2 separate regions of the Homo sapiens genome follow, and region 1 is linked to region 2. The links are contacts of gene promoters, found by promoter capture Hi-C in human tissues and cell types (Jung and others, 2019). All regions are on one chromosome and are shown on one strand. Each heading gives the region's core, a stretch centred on a gene start or on the middle of the fragment in contact. The rest is flanking DNA. Distances are from core to core; before and after follow the strand shown. Region 1 has its middle 31 kb from the start of LINC02691. Region 2 holds the start of KIF26A (kinesin family member 26A).

The links. The method cuts DNA at HindIII sites, captures the fragments that hold promoters and counts their contacts. A contact is called where the count stands out against the background at its distance.
Region 1: a contact is called between a fragment that was not itself captured here and the fragment with the promoter of KIF26A in region 2, in 1 of the 25 tissues and cell types used here (dorsolateral prefrontal cortex).

What each region holds. Positions count from the first base shown.
Region 1 is chr14:104,188,577-104,195,806 of GRCh38, reverse strand. No RefSeq gene overlaps it. Among named protein-coding and RNA genes, the nearest start is that of LINC02691, 31 kb to the left of the region's middle. RefSeq lists an enhancer at 6,130-6,963. The HindIII fragment of the contact is 7,092 bases long and covers 1-5,439 here.
Region 2 is chr14:104,133,981-104,140,727 of GRCh38, reverse strand. It overlaps KIF26A (kinesin family member 26A), which reads right to left and starts at 2,141. Exons shown (of 15, transcript NM_015656.2): 1 at 1,964-2,141; 2 at 1,440-1,685. The coding sequence starts at 2,005. It overlaps KIF26A-DT (KIF26A divergent transcript), which reads left to right and starts at 2,099. Exons shown (of 3, transcript NR_158217.1): 1 at 2,099-3,198; 2 at 3,486-3,861; 3 at 5,556-5,945. RefSeq lists a silencer at 2,973-3,142 and enhancers at 2,839-3,550, 3,551-4,262, 4,549-5,122, 5,731-6,230. The HindIII fragment of the contact is 16,750 bases long and covers 1-6,747 here.

The sequences.
Region 1 (7,230 bases), core at 644-3,143, 55 kb before region 2:
ATCTCAGACCCAACCAGGCCCCCAAACCACGCTGGCCTCCTGTGGGCCCAGGCCCCACGCCTCACCCTTCCGCCAAACTCAAGCTGCCTCTGCCATGCCGGATGCCCCAGCCTCCTTCACCCCACAAGCCTGCCCTGCTGCTGCCCACCATGCGGCCCCATCTCCAGCTTCCGCTCGTCGCCCAGCCTCACCTGCGTCTCCTGGGGCTGTTTGACTGCTTTTCATTCTTTTACTCCTCGACTGCCCCGTCTGCAGGAGAGGGCTGTGAGGTCAGCCGGCCAGGACAGGGTTCCCTCCACAGCCTCTCACCCACCCCGGAGCGATCCAGGGGTCTGCTGAGTTCCCCGGGCAAGAAGCAGCCCGGCCTGCCCTGGGCCCAGCAAGCTAAGGCCCGGGGACACCCAATGGCTGTGGGTCCTTTCTGTGTTTCAGACTCAGATTCCCTGGGATGGGTGATGCATCAGAGTCCTGTCCAGCATGCAGGGCCTCATCCCACCCTCTCCCTCCCACTCAGCCTCCCGCACCACCCTTCCCTGCCTCACCCCATGCCCCCAGCAGTCTCTGACGCCCCCAGAATTGGAAAGGGGGTGGTTTGGGAAGGAGAGACCCTGCTGGTGGTCTGGGCACAGGTGGGACTTCCAAACCGCAAGCAGCCCCTGCTGCTGTCCCTGGGGTGTCTCTGACTCCCGCCACTACTACAGGGCACCTGTCTCAGGTGGGCTGCTGTCCTTGGCCGCACGAGAACTCTGCACAGGGTCTTCACTCCTCGCTGTGGCCCGGTCCGCTAGCAGGAGGGTCTGCGTGTGCAGAGTGGTCTATGGAGAGACCCCAGGGCAGGGACTGCGAGGGGGCTCGTTGAAAGGACCACTGTCCAGTCCCCAAGAGTGAACACCAAGCAGGGGGGCCAGCATGCCGTGCCCCCCTTGGCCCCATCCTCAGCCTGGCATGCTGGGCCCTGCCTGGCCGCCCCCACAGCTCAGCCAACAGTAGAGCTCAGCCCTGGCCTCACCGAACACAGACATCCCCTGAAACAGACACCTGCCAGAAGGACCCTCACCCCTGCATCTCTGGTTCTCTCTGCCCTTCCAGGTTCCCCTAAGCACCTCCTCTTCCGGGAAGTCTTCCCTAACCACCCCTGGCCCAGATGGAAGCACTTCCCTTCCTCTGAGTCCCCCGCACTTTCTCTGCCTCTCTACTGGCCTAATCGTCTGCTAGACCATCAGTCACCTGCTGGACCGTAGGTGACACCCTGGACCGTAGAAGCTCTTAAGAGTCTTAAGAGCTTCAGTCTACACCTGACTTCCCTCCCTCAACACAGCCCTGACACAGCACGAGCTGAGAGCTTAGGTCTAGGGAACTAAAGAAGAACTAGAAAAGTCTGGCTTCACTGAGCCCACCATGTGCTGGGCACCGGGGATCATCACGCACACCACCCACTTCACCCTCCAGGACGAGGGACAGCTCTCCCCATTGTCCAGAAGAGGAAATCGCTGCCCAGCAAGGACAGAGCTGAAGGCCCAGCCTAGCCTCGCTGCTCCGGAGCCCTGGATGGGCAGGTGCCCTGCCGTCCGGAACCCACGGCACCCAGCCAGGACCATGGAGAGACAGGCACCTGCTCCAGGATGGCACATCCACACTCCTGAGCTGAGGAGATTGTGGAGCCAAGACTGTCTCTGCAGAAGCCGTTCATCCACCCCCTCCCCTCTGCCCAGCCCTGACCCCTCATGGCTCAGGGTGCGCGGGCCACCTCGGCCAGAGGCCTTCCCAGCGCTGAACTGTGCAAATATTTGTTTCTTTAAGAGAAAAGAAGACCCTCTGGTACTTCCAAGGGAGCATAAATGGGGCCCCAGGAAACCCCACCAGGATATGGGGCTGGCTGATGCCTGGAAGCAGCTCAAAGCAAACCAGGTAATTACCAAAAAACCAGGTAAAAACCAAAAACAGACCAACCAGAGCAGGACCTGACTTCATGGTGAACAAATGTTCTTTGTGTTTTTAAGTGAATGCTGCATTTTAAGCCAATCCCTTCCCACCTGCCCCCGCCACTGCCATGCTCCCCCTGTGCCCAGGTCACCTGGACAGAGGCTCTTCCTGGACCAGCCCTGAGAGCTTGAGGGTCCCGACCCTGCCATGGCACTGGGGCTGGGTGGAGGCACTGAGGGTGAGGAGGGAACCCAAGTTGATGCCCCGGTTCCGGAAGAGGATGAAACAGGGCCCCCAGGAGGGGTGCACAGGGGAGAACAAGTCTGAGAGATCTGGGGGCCGGAGGGACATGGGGCAGATACCAGAGAAACGATGGAACTGCAGATGTGGGGCACAGGGATGGGGTCTGGGGGCCAAGGTGGCCCAGGGGGACGTGAAGCCCCAGGGCAGGGGCAGGTGGCCCAGGGAGAGTGCAGGGAGGAGGACAGGGCTGAGGGCCACAAAGGGACAGATGAAAGACACATCCACAGGGTGGGGGGGAGTGGCCGGGGTGGGGGCCGAGAAGTGGGCACAGATGCCAAGAGAAGGGCACCAGGGCTCTGCCTTTGAAGGCTGTGAGATCTCGCCCAGCAGAGGCCTCGGTGGTTGGGGAGGAGAGGGCTGAGCAGCCTTGCGAGAGGAGACCACCCCAGCCTTGATTTCCCCAGGGGTGCACTGGGGTAGGTCCCTGGGAGTGGGCTGGGGTCTCCCACAAGGCCTCCCTGGGGGCTGGGAGCTCATTTGCGAGTCTGCTCAACCTGCCCCGGCTCTATGTTCACACCCCATGTATTGCCACCCGACGCCACGATGCCTGTGCCTGGTGCGCTGCTGCTAGAAGCTCTCAAGTGCGGCGGAGCCCCCTCCTCACCCAACTCACAGCAAAGGGAGCAGGAGAGAGAGCAGGCCAACCAGCCACAGGCAGGGGGCATCCCCACCCCTGCCTCAGCTCTGGGTGAGGCCCTTGGGAGACAGAAGCAGGACAGCCCCCAAGAGCTGGGCAGAAAGACGAGGGCAGAGGGCCCCGGGTAGCTGAGCCTGAGATTGGGGAGCTGCCTGGAGCAGGGAGCCAGGTACACACAGGGGCAGGGCTGTCCCCAGACCAAGACCTGCCCACAGGCCTCAGCAGGCACATCCCATGTGCCAGCCCGCCCAACGCCCAGCCCCTTCCTTTTCCCCTGCCTCCAGCTCATTCCTTGCCCCCAGAAGCCAGAGCCTGTCCCACTGACCCCACCATCCCATCTGAACCACCACCCAGCTGCTCCAGCTGGCCAGGCTGTGGGTGCTGAGCTGTTCTGAAGAGTGAGGGCACCAGGCTCCCGGAGGAGCCCTCAAGGCCAACCAGTCTCAGGAGCAGGGGCAGAGTCCATGCCGAGTGCGAGGAGACCCCTCTGCCCCTCTGCAGTGCCCCTCCGGCTCCACCAGGCTCACCCCAGGGGCAGACGCAACCCAGTGTGGCCCCAGGGTGGGTCTGGCCCTCCTTGTGGCCGCCCGTCCTCCTGCCCAGACCCAGGGCTCTGCTGCGAGGCGAGGCAGGGAGAGGCCTGGCTCTCCTTCCTCCCGTCAGCCTTGCACAGGCCGGCCTGCCCTGGACCTGGCCTTCCTGGTCTGTAACACGGGGTGACACGGATACCTGCCCACGCCTGGACATGGAGGGGCCCCGATAAATCCCCGTGGCAATGGCAGCAAATAGTCACTGCCCTAGAGAGGACCAGGCAGCAGCTCCTGGTGCCCCCACCCTGTGCCGCTGGCTCCGGGCACTTCACAGGCCTTTTTCTATTTCCCAGGCTCCATGTTGAGTCCACACAGCTGGTGGGAGCAGAGCCTGGCCGTGGACCCGACGGGAGGCTGCACTGTGCACACATCATCCTACCCCTGTCCGTGCCATCCCCATTGGAGCCAAATCCATTGGCGTTCCTTATGTGCCAGGCACCACTAAGCTGCATACTCCGGGTCAAATCATCTAACTGAGCCCCAGTGAGGTAGGGGTGAATACGGATCTCCAGTTTCAGAGGAGCACAGAGAGGTTCAGTAGCACACCTGGGGTCACACAGCAGGCAGAATTTGCACTCAGATAGCCCAGCTGGTCTGGGCACTGAGGCCAGTCACTGCCCGACACTCCGTGTCTCTGTGACACTAGGTGAGCCCCACCCAGGAACGGGAGGCAGGAACTGGCAGGCCCTGGGCCGTGTGGTCCGTGCAGGTGGGTTCCCAGGCAGAGCCGCCTCTCCCTGCGGTGCTGCTCTGTGATGGACCCGTCAGACCCAGGAGGTCAGCCCCGATGGCCGCCTCAATCCGCAATTGCCGTTCAGCTGACAGCAGCGTGGATTTACGAGCAGCCCTCTGCCTCCCCACGGTGGCCGAGCCACCATGCCCACCCCAACCTGGGACCAGTCCTCAGACCTCCTAGGGTCTTGGCCCACACGTCCTCTGTTCCCCTGAATGCAGGTGCAAGGGGAGGCCCCTGCCTGCATTCCCCACCTCTGCCTCTCACCCACCAAAACTTCTTGCCCCAAAGCCTCTGCTCTCCCCATTCAGGGACCCACCCACCTCCACTGTGCAGGGAGCCCTAAGCCTCCAAGTTCCCATTTCCATAATGGGGAAACTGAGGCCCAGGGGGCTGAGGTCACAGGTCGGAGCTGGCTCCTGCAAGGCCAGGCTGTGGCTCTCGCCAGACCTTTCCAACCTCCACCCTTTAAAGTGCAAAAATCAAAGGTCAGTGTCATTTCACCAGTGCGAGGCCAAGGGGCTTTCCTAGGTCACAGGGCAGTTTTTGATGCTGAGTCTGGGAGTACAGCCCACCTCTGCAGCCTGGCTCATGGCGGGGAGCAGGGAGGAGGCACGGGATGGAGGCAACTGGGGTTCAGGACAGTGAGCTGCAGGCCCGACCAGCCCCACCCTCTGCCCCCAGGGCAGGAATCAGGAATGGAGACAGCTAGCGTGGACCCCCGGCCTCCCCAGCACTCCCACCTCAGCCTCTGTGCCTGCCTTTCCCGCTCCCAGAGTCCCCTCTTCAGAACCAGCCACATAATTTTGGGTGGGGCCCACAGCGTAACAGAAACCCTGGGCACCTTATCCAAGAGTCGTTATGAACTTCAAGGTGGCGACGACTGGGCATAACAGTGTGGGTCCTTCTGAGTGTGGCCCCATTACTGCCAGGTCTCAGCCCTGCCCCTGCCTTCCATCCTGCCTCCTCCACCCACATCCCACCCTCAGCAGCCCCCTTGCCCTCCCGCACGCCCCCTTCCCTGGGCTCCACAGATACAGCCTACACCGGGAAGCCCATCTGCCCTGGGGGGACCCTCTGAGGGTTTGGGCCAGTCTACCTAGGCTCTGGCCTGGAAGTCACCAAGCACAGCTGGCCACAGGCCACCAGAGGCCACCTTCCCATGCATGTCCTGGCCGGGTACCAGTCTGAGACAATAGTGGCCCAAAAGAAGCTTCTGGAAGAAAATGCTGGTGCTCTACTCCAGGTTCCTTCAGGGGACACTCCAAAGCAGCACTGGGCTCTGAGCTGAAGCTTCAATCCCCAAACTCACAGATTCCCAGGTCCTCCCACCTCAGATCCTCAGACCCAGGACCCCCAGATCCCCAAACCCACAGCCCTGAACCCCCGACCCTGGAGCCCAGCCTCCTTCTCCCGGCAGCAGCTCAGAGGCCTCCTCTGCCCGCAAGAGCAGCCCCCGGTCTAGCACCTGAGCCCAGGTGTCCAGCAGAGTGGGCTTGGGTCTGCAGGCCACCCAACCTTTGCTGGGCAGATTTGCTCCCTGTGCCAGTCTGTGGGAACGCAGGCCAAGTTCCTCCCCTCCCCACGGGCTTGCCAGGAAGAGCTGGAGGTGGGGACTGGTGGGGGAGCCCCCATGCCAGGGCTCCAAGAAGATGGACATAAGAGCAGGGCATCGGGTCCCATGACTCCTGAGTGCACGTGTGTGTGTGTGCATGCATGCGCCCATGTGCGCATGTGTGTGTACATGTGTGTCCCTAAGTGCATGTGTGCCCGTGTGCATGCGTGTGTGCGGGTGTGCCCCTACGTGCCTGTGTGCCCGTGTGCATGTATGTGTGTACATGTGTGTCCCTAGGTGCATGTGTGCCCGTGTGTGCATGTGCGCCCCTATGTGCATGTGCACCCGTGTGTGCACGTGTGTGCACGTGTGTGTCCCTAGGTGCATGTGCGCCCGTGTGTGCATGTATGTGTACGGGTGTGCCTCTACGTGCATGTGTGCCCATGTGTGCATGTGTGTACATGTGTCCCTACGTGCATGTGCCCATGTGTGTGTGTGTGTGCTCATGTATGTGTGTGCTCATGTATGTGTGCACCTGCTCATGTGTGCACACACCAAGTGATAAATCTGGCCACCTAGAGGAGGTGTTTTACTCTCCTCTGTGCCTTATTAACAAACTGCATGGCCTGACACGCGCAGCCGGGGACTGAATCTCTCAGGCAGATCAGCATAACGGGAAGTAAGTAAACAGTGGCCTGCACCAGCCTCCAGGTCCCACCTCGGACTAACTGGGCCTGGGCGCCCTCCTGCACCAACGGCTCAGAGCCCTGGCCATGCCGCCAGCCCCGTGGCACTGTGAGGCTGTAGGGGGCCTGCTACCTGCCTCCTCACCCCCTGTACTGTCCCAGGGACCCTGGCTCCCCTCACACAGCAGCCAGCCCTGAGGAACTGCCCTCCCAGGTGCTCAGCCAGCCCGTTGGGTAAAGCTAACAGGAGCCTTCTGCGCTGCTGAGGAGGAAACAACGAACACAGGTGCAGGGGGGCCTCACTGGGGTCCCCCCTGAGACAGAGTGCATGGCCCCCTTGCTCTCCAGGCCCCCGCCAGGCCAGCCAGGCCCCATCCCTGCCCATCTCAGGGAACTCCTCCGGCAGCCCAGGTGGGAAGTGGCAGAGCTGGGGTTGGAACCCAGGCGATTTCCAGCACCGATGCTTTGCAGGCTGTCTCAGAGGCAGATGCCCTCCTGGCTCAGCCACCTCCAGGCCAGAATGGACTGATCCCTCCTGCCTTGGCAGAGAGGTGTCGCCTGCCCATGGCCCAGGAAGCCTGGGTTCCCTACAGGCAGGACCTGGGTCTCCCTCATCTGGCCCTCTCAGCTCAGCCCGGCCCAGAGCCCAGGCCACGATGCTCAGGAAGCGCCCCCTGGATAGCTGTGTGCTGTGAAACCTCCTTCCTGCAGGTGAATTCCAAGGCTCCCGGAGCAGGAACAACAGGAGTCAGACACCTGGCTGCCCTCAGCCTGGGCCAGAGCACCCTGCCCAGTGGGCGTGA
Region 2 (6,747 bases), core at 892-3,391:
ACCTGTCTGCCAGAAGAGACCAAGACACCCCCCTAGATGAGGAACCTAGAATCCACCAGGGACTAGTATCACCTGCAGCCCTCTCCACTAGGACCCCTGGCCTGCCCGTGACCAGGAGCCCCCTCCCCTCCACGAGTCCATGCCAGGACCATGGCCCCAGGGCCAGGCAGCATCAGCAGTCCAAGCCCACTCCAAGAATGAGGAGACCAGCTCAATCTTAATGCCCCTCCTGTCTCTGGCGTGTTTCCCCTAATGGGGCAGCAAGATGGGCCTTTAGCTCTGGCTGGCCCTCTCCAGGGGGCCCTCAAGGGTCTCCTGCTACCTTTTAAACTAGATACAGGCCACTGGGGCACAGAGTATGGCCAAGGCTGCAGCCTGTCCAGAGCAGAGGACAGGGCGGGTCCAGCCCCACCCCAGGACAGGCCCACAGGCGCCTGGCCTGAGCCAGAGAGAGGCTACAGCAATCCTATCCCTCGCCGAGACTCCAGAGAGCCCGGAGACGGTGCCCAGGACAGAAACCAGACTGGTACCCTGCCCCACCCTGCCCTGCCCCAGACAGGGCAGTCAGGGTCTCAGCTCACTCCAACCCCCACAGCCCTTAGAGAACTATATTTAGATTCAATGGGGATTATGCGGACTTCCCAGGAACTCTTTCATAAAGGCTGAAGGCCCGGCAGCGGGCTTCCTCTGGAGACCCCCACCCGCCCCCAGCCTTTGCAAACTTCCAGCATGCATTGTTCCTGGAACAATGGTCCCTGCTCCCTCCAAAGCCGGCAGGCCCACTGGCTGGAAATCCAGGAGAACCCCTCCCCTGCAAGCACCTGCCCCTGGGGCTGGAGCCTGGGGAACCCAGAGGGCCCCGACTCAATTCCCCATGGGCGGCCACTGCCTCAGTCTATCCCAGGAGGTATGGGACAACAGTTCTTATCCTTGAGGCTGGGAGAGGAGTAGGCAGGGACCCCCCAGCTGCTGTGGCCCACCCTTTCACCTGCCAGGCCCCCCGGCCCCAGGTATGTAATTTCCAGACACCTGGCTGGGGGCCCAGGTGCCCCAAGGGCCACAATGCACCAAATAACCTCTCCCTGCTGGTAGGGCTGGAGCTGTCCCGCCCTGGGTGGAGTCCCTGCCATCCGCTCTCTCCCCTCCTCCTCCCACACAAACCTGCGTTCCAGCTGTGGGACATCTGGGCTGGGGGAGGAACGCCAGCCCAGGCCCCTCCCATCCGAGGCAGCAGGGCCCCTCGGGCTGAGCTCCCTAGCTCACACATGGTGTTACAGACCGGGAAACTGAGGCCCGCAGAAGGGAAGTCCTGGCTGATAACTCTTTGTGGAAACAGCAGCAGGGAAGGAGTGGAACCCTGCTTCCCTCCAAGCCCCAAGTTCTACCCAAGTTCGGCGTGGCCCTGCTCGGAGGGGTCGGCCTAAGGAAGTGTCACTTACCCGGAGGGTGGTCCCGGGCCCGCTGACCAGCTTCCACGCCTGTCGCTTGAGCTCCACCAGCTTCGTGTGGCAGTGGCGGCACCAGCCGCCTCCGCCGGCCGAGTGGCCCTGCTCTGGGCCGGCCCCGGCGCCTTCGGGAGCAGGGCGGCTGCCGCATGGGTCCTGGTCGGGCCCGGCGGGTAGCCTCTTTCGGGGGGACACCTCCAGCAGCGGCGGCGGCTCGCGGGCCGGGCCGCCCTCGGCCACCTGCAGGGTGTGGGGGCGGAAGCGGACAGTGAGCCTGGGACGTCCGTCGGATCCAGACCCCTGCGCGCCCTGCCCCAGCGTGACGCTCTTGCCAAAGTTAGGAGCCCTGGGCACGACCCTGGCGCTCACCCACTCCCTCCATCCCCGGAGGTCCCGCCTGCGGGTCCGCTACCCTCAGCAGGAGGCCCGGCCCCCAGGGATCCAGCGCACACCGCGAGTATCTTCGCCGTCCCGGGCCCCCGCCGCCCGCCTCCCTCTCCAGGCCGGGCCGCGCGTACCGCGGGCTGCGCAGCGCACAGAGGGACGCCGCGGCCGACCATGGCCGGGGCGCGGGAAGAGCCCGGCAGGCGCTCCCGGCCACGCTGGCTCTCCGGGGGCGCCGCGGCTACGTGATCCGGCCCCGAGGCGCCCCCATGGCCCGGCCCAGCCGCTCGGAAGTTCGCAGAGCCTGCGAGTGTCGCGAGGAGCGCGGTGGCTCCGGTGGGCGCGCTCGGGAGGCGAGGGCGGGGCCGGGGAAGGGCGGGGCTCGGGCTCCCGGGGCGGGCGGCGAGGGGCGGGAGCCCAGAGAGTGCCCCGCCCTTGCCCAGTGCTGGGCGGCGCGTGGGGGGGGTAGGGTCCCCGCTTCCCCACGCGGCCCCGCGCACTCCAAGGACCCCAACCTGTTAGGTGAGTCCCTGCCCCGGGGAGGGGCGCTGGGGGCGGCGGCGAGGATCTAGTTGCGCGCGCGCATGCGCCTCCCGCCCCTCTCCCGGGACACCAGGGCTGCGCGTCTCCCAGGAGGCGCCGACGCCCCTCCCTCTACAGGCGGGAAAACTGAGGCTGCGGAGGGGACGCTCTTGCCCAAGGCCCACGGCGAGGTGGGCCGAGGAAGGGGCGGGACCCCGGCCCCGAGACTCCCAGGCGCCTTTCCAGCAAGCCCAGCGTACTCTGCGTGTCGCGGGCCACTTTAGGTCTAACTGTCGCGCGTGGGTTAGTGTCGCCGCGGTGTGCGCCTCGAGCCGGGCAGCGACCGCGCCGGCGTATCTGTGCCTCGGCGCGTCTGCGAACGGCACGTGTCTTTACAGCCGCGCGTGTGCCCGCAAGTGGGTGTGCGCGCCGTGCCGCCCGGGAAGCGGGAGGTCCTGCGGGCGTGCGCCGGACCTGTTGTCAGCAGGCCTGGCAGATGGGAACTCAGCTCCGGAATTAATTGCTTGTTTGTCTCCGGCTGGGAGGCCGCCCCCCCGCCCTTCCCTGGCGACCAGTTGCTCTGTGCCTAGCCGGGCCCCAAATGTCGCCGGCATCCGCGGCCGCAGGCAGCTCCGGGCCAGGCTCCGGGTCAGCCCCAAAGCCCGGGTCAAGCCAGGCGGGCGCGGCGGGCGGGCTCCCCGTGACGCGAGTGCCCCCTGCCGGCCGCTGCGCACACGGCTCCGAGACTGGGGAGACAGCGCCGCGCGTCCCAGGCCTGAGGCGCACTCGGAAACTCCGAAGGTCGTGACCCGGCGGAGACCAGGACACGCGGCTGCCGGCACATACGGTGAGGCCTTCGCAGAGACTCAGTACGTCAAAGTGACCCTTTCCGTTTTGCCCACCCCCTTTTACTTGGATAAGCCTCCCCGCCCACGCACGCACTCCCCAGAAAGTGGGGTGGGTGATCCCCTCCCGGCTTTCCGGGTCGTTGATGACCTTAGGGGTTCGAAAACGCAAGGGGGTATGGAATAAAGTGGCAGGGGCTCTCCACTCTTTCTGAGATCCGTAAGCCTGCAGTCGCTTTCCACCCAGCCTGGGGGGCCGGAAGCGCTTCCCCTACCCGTCTCTTCGCAGCCTGGAGAATGAAAACGGGCGTCAGCCCACATCTGGATCTGGGTACTGAGGACAACACCCAAACCCCACCCCGCACTGCCGGCAGACAGCACCGCCTCCCGCCGCTCCACTGCTCCGGGACACACACTCTCTATATCCCGTCCCCCCACCCACACACGCAACACAGAAGCACGCAGCGGTCGGGAGCACCGGTCCTGCGCCCCTGGCCAGCCACACCCGCAACTTCAGCGCTTCTACCGCCGCGGCGCTTCGGGAAGCACAAGCTCACATCCCATATCCGCAGAACACGGGGTGCACAAGGCTGGAGTCACCTCGGGGGCTCACGATCAGTCAGGGGCCCCGACCCCCTACTTCGCCCATCCTAGCAAGGCGCAAGGTGAGCCCGAGAATCCCTGCGCTGCGCTCTCCGCCCTAGCCACAGCCTCCGGGTGGGTCCGGTTGGGACACAGCCTTGAAGGCAGAGGGAGACTTGGACAACGCTAATGGGGGAAAGTGCGGCAGCGAGTCCCAGCCCGGGCTGCGGGACGCGGCTCCGGACCTGCCGTCTCCTTCCCGGCGCAGCACCCCCGGCCGCGCGAGCCGCGCGGCAAAGTAACGGGACGGCGCCTACGCCGCCCGCCCCCCTCCCGACAGCCCTCACCTTGCCTCGTCGCCGCAGGAGGTGGCTGGTGAAGCCCAGGATGATCTCCGAGTCCAGGCAGAGCGCCCCCATCTCCAGCAGGCTGGGAGCCTTGCGGGGCGCGCCGCGGGGCGGCTCGGGCGGCTGGGGCAGCGCCATGGAAGAGGGAAGCGCGGGGAGCGGCCCCTAGTGCCTCCCGCCACCGCCGCCCCGCCCGCGCGTTCACTGGCCGCGCGCCCGCCGCCGCCGCGCCCCGCACCGCGCAGGGCCGCCCGTCAAGCCCCCGGTCCTCCGCGCCCCGCGCCCCCGAGCCCTGCGCTCGCTCCGCGCCGCGCGCCCCCGCGCTCCGGCCCCGCCCGCCTGCGCCGACAGCGCCCCTTCCGCCCCGGCGGCGAGCCAGACACCAGCCACGCGGACTGGAGGTGTGGGGCGACGGCCCCGCGCGCCACTGGGCGGAGGTTGGAAGCCAGAATCGGGTCGCGGTCCGCGCCCACCTGCCTCGCTAGCCCCCAGACGTCGGTGTCTACTGCCGGGTATCCGGCAGGGAGAGGGCAGCGCGGCTGCTGTAAAACCCTTCCGACTGGGGCATAATCGCAGCCCCTTCCCCCTCCAATCTGTCCTGAGGACACGGCGCGTTGGGGTCCTGGCCCATGGAAACGCTCAGAGCCCAGTGACCTGTGCACTCCACCCCGCCCACGCTCCAGAGCCCCCGTTCAACCTTGGCCTATGGACCTCCAAGGCCCACCCCAACCGGACCACGGAGCGTGCGCAGCGGGACCCGCAGTCTGCGCCTCCACTCCAGGATCCCGATTGTGCCGCCACCCGTGGCCTTCCCTGCCCCGACCCCGACTCCCTGAGGGCTGGAAGATTCGGGCTGGCTGCCGGGCACGACGACTTTACTTTCAGGGTCCGAAGCTAGGGGCGGGGGTGGGCGCTCTGCCTGGGTGCAAACTCAAGCCCGGGTCCCGCGCTCCTCCTGTGGGCTGCCCCAGCCTCGCGCGCAAGTGGGTGAGATGCCTGGCTTGAGGGAGGAAGGGAGAGGATCAAGCAGGCAGAGAGGTTCGCCTAAATGCGCTAGGCCCACGCGGAAGGTCTTTGGGAGTTAAGGAAGTGTCAGGGACCCTGCCCAGGGGATATTAGGCGCCTTGAGCAGGACCTGGAAGGTGGACAGGCGAGGGAAGGAGAACGTTTTCAGCGGCGCCAGCGCGCACCTATGGCCTGGCTGGGGTGCTAAGGCTGGGCTAGACTTTCTGTGCTCTCTGCCCCCTGCACTCCTCTACTCTCCCCTGGGAAGGACCATGGCCACGCCCCACAACCCCACTGCTCCGGCGGCGCCGCAAGGCCGTCCTGCTCCCCCGGTCCTTCCCCTGACTCCCCCCAGTGGAGGCTGAAGGACGTTGTCTCAACCTGACTCCAACCCAGAGCCCAGCACTGCCATTTGTCTCCAACAGAATCACCATAAACGCTGGATTTGCTGACCACATGGCCGATCGTGACCACCTGCTCTGTACTCACCCAGGCTTCTGGTCAGGAGAGAGGCGGGGAAGAGCTGCCCCCTCCCTGCGTCCACCATCACTCCTGGCCTGGGATCAGGGCAAGTTATAAAGGGGGCCAGAGTCCCCCCTTTCTCTCTGTCCCTCTCCAGGAGGACACTCTGGGGACCACCCACCCTCCTCCCTCCCCCACAGGAAGGGGACTGGGGAAGACTGTCCTCTTCCCCCATCCTGTCTCATCCAAGACCCTGAGCCTGGGGCGGGGAGGGGGGGGCTCCCTTCAGCGGACCAAGGGCTTCTGGGAGGCCACCCGCCATGTCAGTGGATTGATTAAAGTCATTGTGGGGATTTTTTTTAACATTTAATTTACCAGGCACGCGGCGGCTGGTCAGAGCTGTCCCCAGGGAAATCTAGACCAAGGGAGCAAAACAGAAAAAAACCTCCTACCATTCAGCAGGGCCCCTCTGATGGGATTAATTGCCGGAACTCGGCTTCCATTCAGACCACACGCAGCAATGTTTCAGGGAGGGAGGAGGACATGGGGCTTGAGTGCTCAGATTCCTTCCCTGGGTGCTTGGAGCCCAGGGCCCTCCATACCGCCATCTCTCCCCAGCCTGCTGGTGCTGGTCAAGAGCCCCGCCCCCCACCTCTCCGCACCTTCGTGTCTTCATGTGTGACGAGGTGGACGGTACCCGGAGGCAGACCAGTCCCTCCAGAGCCCACCCCACCCCCATCCACGTCCCTTCAGTGTGCAGGGCAAGAGCTGGGAGGCACCCCAGACACGCTCCCACGGAAACTGAACACTTGCCAGAGGTGTCTTTAGTAGTGGAAACCGGCTGGGTAGGAATGGCCAATCGTCTCTTCATCCTTGGCGACAGTGGATGGACGGCAGGTGGACCCGGGACAGGGACGGGCACGCAGTGTGCGGCACAGCCCCGTTGGCCTTTGCAGAGAAGGTTTATGCTTATGAAGGCGGGGACCTTTCCTGGGACAGACACAAGCAACAGGTAACGATTGTTGCCTCTGGAGAGAGAGTAGGAGTGGGGTTCGGGAGAGGTTTCACTTCCATTTTACACCCCTCTGCACGGTTTTGACTTTTGTGGGGTTTTTAACCATCCTGTTTAGCATTTAATAAAGAGATAAGGAAGGG